Regions from separate parts of the Homo sapiens genome. Here region 1 is linked to region 2. Evidence: promoter capture Hi-C in 16 types of primary human blood cells and fetal thymus (Javierre and others, 2016). All regions are on one chromosome and are shown on one strand. Each heading gives the region's core, a stretch centred on a gene start or on the middle of the fragment in contact. The rest is flanking DNA. Distances are from core to core; before and after follow the strand shown.

The links. Contacts are between HindIII fragments. The CHiCAGO score rates a contact against its expected background, and 5 or more counts as called.
Region 1: a fragment that was not itself captured here is called in contact with the fragment with the promoter of FAM174A in region 2 in 1 of 17 cell types (total CD8 T cells); the score reaches 5.3 in total CD8 T cells.

Annotation. Positions count from the first base shown.
Region 1 is chr5:103,243,991-103,247,448 of GRCh38, reverse strand. It overlaps LOC124901037 (a long non-coding RNA gene), which reads left to right. Exons shown (of 2, transcript XR_007058894.1): 2 at 1,109-1,652. Among named protein-coding and RNA genes, the nearest start is that of MACIR, 13 kb to the left of the region's middle. The HindIII fragment of the contact is 1,644 bases long and covers 535-2,178 here.
Region 2 is chr5:100,533,782-100,536,997 of GRCh38, reverse strand. FAM174A (family with sequence similarity 174 member A) reads right to left here and starts at 1,624. Exons shown (of 3, transcript NM_198507.3): 1 at 1,034-1,624. The coding sequence starts at 1,467. It overlaps FAM174A-DT (FAM174A divergent transcript), which reads left to right and starts at 1,755. Exons shown (of 5, transcript NR_172939.1): 1 at 1,755-1,837; 2 at 2,846-2,918. RefSeq lists an enhancer at 1,366-1,665. The HindIII fragment of the contact is 3,135 bases long and covers 1-2,001 here.

The DNA of each region.
Region 1 (3,458 bases), core at 107-2,606, 2.7 Mb before region 2:
AGTGGGCAAAGGACATGAACAGACACTTTGCAAAAGAAGACATACGCATGGCCAACAAGCACATGAAAAAATGCTCAACATCACTCATCATTAGAGAAATGCAAATCAAAACCACAATGAGAAGTGGAAAATATTAGTTATCTTTAGGGAGAAACAGCTGATGGCCTGGGGACAGGGTTGGGAGGTAAACTTTTCATTATACATTCTTTTGTATGTTTTGAATTTTGATTATGTAAAATAAATGCCCATTTTAAAAAATTAAAATTTTAAATGTCAATGAAACATTCTCAACCAAAGCTTGAGACTTTCCAATTGCTAACAGTCTTGATTAATCTGTTAACTTTCTAGTCAGAAATTATATGAAGTTTTTTAGCTTTCTAATAATGAAGCTACTACAGTATTGCAACTTGTTACTCTTCCCAAGCACTTAGCCAAAACCTTTATCTTTTGAAATTATGATTTCAAAAGATCTCTATACTCATCTCTATACTCATTCTTTTCCTGAAAAAAGGAAGTTAACAGAAAAAAAAAGCTTTGTTCCTATTGCTGTAAAATATTTGCACATTTATGGGTCAGTTGAAGCAGCCTTGACATCTTATCATGTCACTCAATTACTTTACAAGATACAATGTGATACAAATCTCAGATGATAGCATGGACTTTGAAAGCATACAATCTAGGATTTCTAGACATGTGACATTGTTCAAATTATCTGACCTATCTAACACTGTTTCCTTATCTAGAAAACTAATATTCATTTTTCCAGATTGCTTTCAGTATTAATATAACTTATATACCTGAAATGTGGGAGAGGCTTAAGGAGAGCTAAAATTATAGAAAGCAAAAGGCTTAGTTCTAAAAAACAGAGACCCACCAAGACAACTAATAGTGGGAAGGCTTTATGGACACATACGTCAGAAAACAAGGGCACCTGTGAGGTAAGCTAGGGAGAACAGACATGGCTCTATACAGCAATGTAAAGTGTGTCCCATCTTTCCATATTATACTGCAGTTAAGAAATAGTTTATGTTCCTTAACATGAATTTAGACTAGAGAAACAAACATATTTAGGGTACAATTTAAAAGGGTTTTCCCCTCTCTGTTGTAGTGAATTTTCTTTAATAACTCCAAATTCTTCAGGGAAAACTTCCACCCACACAGCAGTGATGACTGCTGGTGCTCTGAGGGAATTACGGCACATAGTAATAAAAGATGTATAGAATTTCTACATCAGCAACGTGAAGTCCAGCCCAGCACCCTAGTATGGAGAACAGATGGAGTTCCAGAAGGTAGAAGCCCATACCGGAACTGGGGGCAGTGGAGGGGATGCCATGTGGAAAATTGGTTGCCAAACTGAGGCCTCAGAAATGAATGTGAAATAAACCTTCTCCTTCACAAATATTGTAGAGAGAGTAGAGCCTATGAAGTTGGAGGAGGTTGCCACACGGATTATACTCAGTAGACACAAAGCATCTCAACTTACTACAGGAAAACCACCTTTAATGAAAGCAACCACAGTTCCCACATTCACCTCTCCCCTTCTTTTCTTGGGTGCTTTCATTAATTGCAAGTAAACTTTCAAAGTCAGAGAACTATCAGCCGTATAGCCACCTAACGAAATAAGACAACAAATAAATGTGAATTCATTTTAACAAGTGAATGCCTATTAAATCAGTAGATCAACACTGGCAAAATGCTGTATCTATAGTGCTCCCACTTTAATTGAGGATGGCACCAACAGAGCCCCAGTTCCTCAAGACATCAAGTGAGTGTACATAAAACCAAACTTATGAACATATAAGTGACATTTCCTTAATATTTCATATTTCCATATTGCTTCAACAGCCACATGTTAGATGTGTTTCTGAAATAATGTTGGTAAAGAAGAATTATTCAAAATAAATATTTTACCATAAGTTTCCAGTTGCTATTTAAAACTCCCCACAATAACATATAATAACTTGAACATTCACGTCTCAAAGTATTCTGCCTTTGTCAATGCATAATTTACATGCACTAAAGTTCAAACTATAATTTAGTTGAAAGGACAAACCCAGAACTTTCACATACACATTTAATAACAGTACACATAATGTACGCTACAAGGTGATTATCATATCTCAGACTTCTTCCAGTTCTGAGAGACTTTTATATTTAAGCGATCATCCTACCTAAGCTTTCAACAGAATTCATGACTAGAAGACTCACAGGGACATAATGGTACGGATCCTGATGTTCACTAATCTCAATCTCGCTACAGTTATTTATGAATAAGATAGTCGTATTACCTTCTTCTGTTACACGAGACAAAGGCTTGGAAGTGTTAAGAGGTATGCAATTAGGAAAGATGAACTAGTGTTCAAAATCACCTTGCAGTTTCTTTTCTCTCTCATCCTAGGCTACTGTTTGTGATTGTCTAAATAAAAGGATTCATCCACGCATTCCCTGGAAAAATTTACTACCCAAGTTCACACAGGACAAATTTGGAGTAGAAAATCCATTTAATTACTTCTCTTGGGAAATATCGCTTCTGGCAGAGAAACTAATGTGATATTAGAAGGCTGCTTATTCGGAATTTGTGTAAGAACTACACATACCACGTTGGGTTTGAGCAAATTATCAGGGTCTCTTTGTTGGCCCACTGGAGTCCTTTTTCCTGGGAAATGCTGAAGACAAGAGTCCTAAACTGTTCCCAAGCCCAGGTTTTCTCTCCTCCAAGTTACCCTTTCTGTTCTTTGAACATCTAAATATTTACTCAAAAAAGACTCCTTACTGTCTTACAGAGAGAGACTCTGTATTAACCTCTTTTAACATCTGACAGCTTCTAGCCTTTTAAGGAAGTGATACCTCCACCTATCACAATTTAGCAAGTTTAATCTATTATACAAGTTATCATGTTAACTACCATTAGCAAACAGTAGGACAACTGTGACTTCCTTACAAGGCATTGTGATTTTTGTACTATCACCTTACTGATTACTCTTGAAATGTAAGCCCATCTTTAATACTTAACATCCACAACATCCACAAGTTATAAAACTGCTTTTTGGTTCATGTGTTCTTCAGTAACAGTAAGTAAAAAACTGTCTTTAGAGACACTCTACATATTTTTCAACCCTTTTGTCATCACCAGGAAAACCTTTGCAAAATGAAAACCTTTGTTTCTCAGTGGTAAATCATCATAGACAGAAAGAGTTGGTTCTTGAAATCACACTGTGTGTGCTTTAGGTTGGTCCTTAACTCAAACCTGGTGTGTATTTGCGCATGTGTGTGTGTGTGTGTGTGTGTGTGTGTGTGTGTGTGTGTTGGGGGGGCTGGGCGAGAGAGAGAGAGAGAGACAGAGACAGAGAGAGACAGAACAAAACAGAAAGACAGACATAGAGAAACAGGCAGAGAGACAAAGAGACAAGAGATAGTGCTACATTCCTGGAGTGTAAACATCTTTTCTTCCTTTAACC
Region 2 (3,216 bases), core at 375-2,874:
GAATGTATTATTTTGAAAATAGTTTTAATACTGTAGATGCCCTGAAGAGGTCTAAGTGAAACTCCCACCTGTGTGGTTCCCTGGCCCACATGTCAAGAACCACTGGCTTACACTATTTTTTAACTAGCCAAGTGATGTTGGTTTTCCATTCATGATAATAACGACTTGTTTAAAAGGAAACTTTTGCTTTAAATAATCAGTTTAAAGAAATATGTTAAATTACAATACAGAGGGTATTTATGGGAAAAACGTGAATTTTGAAAACAATAAACAAACATAAGCTGCAAACCTACCCTCTACACTTATTTTATAATGAAATAAACTGCTAGACAGCTTTCCCTCACCTTATCTCTTTGCTGGCTTCTCCTAATGGTGAGGTCTTGGCTCTGTATGTCAACTCTTCAGGAAGGTGATTCTCTGCCACTTAGGTGGCAGATTAAAGGGCAATACTAGGAAACACTGATAGTAAGGAAGAACTTTTCTTCTCCTGAATTTTATAAAAATAAAATATCCATAAGGCACCTCTATATTACTATTAATCCACTCAAATATATATTGATTTCCTATTAAGTGGCAGCATTGTACAAATAATTTGTAAGACTCACAAACCTACTAAATAGATATCCTGTCTTTAAAGAGTTTGCATTCTGATTGGCAAAATTTTGACCAGTTAGGTATACAAAAATTTAGACTAGAAAGGTAGAAGTATTACAAGACAGAGTAGTCAAAATTCTAGGGAATAAAGATTATCCTCACTTCAGAGAAAGGGTGCCCTTTGAGGCTGACGTGGGTTGTAGGTCAGATGAAGAGATTTGGAGGTAGGGCACTCATTTATAAACAAAAGGCAGCAATTAGTTATAGGTTTAAATTGCTCCAAAGGTAACAGGCCTTTAAGAAAGTCAATATCATATTCTTAAGCAGGAGTCCCTGATGCTGGGGAAGGGGGAAAGGGTCACAGAAGTCAGCCTTGCTGGAGATCACCGGCCTGCGTATCTCAGGCCCACGGGGGTGCCCCACCGAGGCTTTGCCTCACCTGACCGTCCTGACCACGAAGTACACCAGCACCGCGCCGCTCACCACCATCAACACGGTCAGGGCCCGCTGGGTCATGGGCTTGTCGCCAGGGTTGGGGCTCACAGCAAGGCCGCCACCCACCGAGCCTTCCCCGGCCTTCCCTCCGTGATCGTCCGTCTCAAGCCCGGCCACAGGGTTGCTGCCATTGCCTCCCTCGGAGCCCCGCGGCCCCGCAGCTTCAGCCAGACCACGGCCCGGCTGCTGGGCAGGGGTAGGGCCCGGTGGCAGCGGCGGTAATGTCCGTGGTCTAGGGTCAGGAGGCCCAAGACCTGGCGCGGCCTCGGCTGCCTGCAGCAGGACTGCCAGGGGCCCGCTTAGTTCAGGCAGCAACAGCAGGAGGAGGACGGAAGCCAAGAGGTGGCTGAGACAGCAGCAGCACTGCGAGGCCTTCATCGTTCCCGGACCGCTCTCTCACCACCCGGGAGCCGCCAGGCCCGCCACGCTGGCTCCAAGAGGGACCATAGGCGCGGTGGAGAATGAAGCAGAGGTGACCAAACGCCAGGGAGAGGCCCGGTCGTGGCAGGTGGCAGAAGCTACAGCAGTGGCAGCTGCCCGGAGAACCGGAAGTTCGTACATCTCAGCGGCCACTGCTGCTAAGGACGCCTTCGGTTGCTAACTTGTAGGGGCGGATGCACTTGGTGACGTCAGAGGCCTAGCGCCCAGTGCGCACGCGCACTTGTGTAAAAAGCGAGGACGTGACCGTTTTGGAAGCATTGTTCTTTTCACTGTTAGTGAGGAGCGGTCAAGGATGCGTATTAAGAAAGTAAGTAGACAAAAAGAGATTGTGTAAAATGTACAGCAACTCTCTCATGCAGGAACCCTGAGAGATTGGAAACTCATAATCTGAATTCATTGGTGTCAAACTGCAATAACACATTTAATCTGTAAGCCAGAAGGGCTTAGTTTTCCTTAGCTTCATTACAAGCTTTAAGCAGGCTTTTTTTCCTGCCTATGGGTCCCTGACCTCCCTTTCTAAAGAGCATTTGCTTGTAATGAGTTCATGTCCTTTGTAGGCACATGGATGAAGCTGGAAACCATCATTCTGAGCAAACTATTAGAAGGACAGAAAACCAAACACTGCATGTTCTCACTCATAGGTGGGAATTGAACAATGAGAACACTTGGACACGGGATGGGGAACATCACACACCGGGGCCTGTCGTGGGGTAGGGGGGAGGGATAGCATTAGGGGATATACCTAATGTAAATGACGAGTTAATGGGTGCAGCACAGCAACATGGCACATGTATACATATGTAACAAACCTGCACGTTGTGCACATATACCCTAGAACTTAAAGTATATTAAAAAAAATTACTTTAGAAAACTTTACCATTGTAAGTTATTTCTCTTCCCTTTTCAGATGTAAATATTTTTTAAAGCTTCTGGCCAGTTATATAATTGAAAACTATCTCAAGGGTATGGAAAGCCATCATGCCTTTGAAATATAATCAGCAAGGAAGGTAGTGGGCCATCTCTTATTTTGTGTGAGAGGAAAGGAACCTAACTGTTGTAGGCTTCTCGCTTCAAGTTGTAAAACCACCTCCTGTCATGGAGGAGAAAATTTACTTTTCCTTTGGGTAAAGTCAATCAGCAAACTCAGGTGGCCGGTGATCTTCCCAAAATAGCTCTTAATAACTCTCCACTCCTTTTTTTCTTTTAGAGGAGTTGAGATTAGAAGAGTTTTATCCCCTTTCCCAACAGCAGTAGTCTTCAATAATGTCTTCCTTGCCTGTTTGACTTCAGTAATATGGAACTTCAATTTGTGCAGATAACTAGAAGTGGCCGCATGATGTACCTCTCACCAATGAGATGCCTGTCAAGGGTATACGTGGGTCTTTTGAGTAAGTTATTGTTTTCATTGCTAAAAGAGAGACAGATACAGGTAGATATATACAGAGAGAGAGCCAGAAACACACACACATGCATACACACACCTACCTCTCTCATTATTCCTTTCCCCCTTTCACTTGCCTGCCCTCTCTGCACAGAAAGTTCTGGCCCTAACCTTGAAAAGAATATGACCCAGCTAGTCCTCTGATCCTAGTAGACTGTGGGATATCTGGCGTAAACTATGACTAAACCTATAGCCTGGCACCAAATGCAGCCAAGGTTAGCTTAAGTTAGTCAACCCCAGCTTGA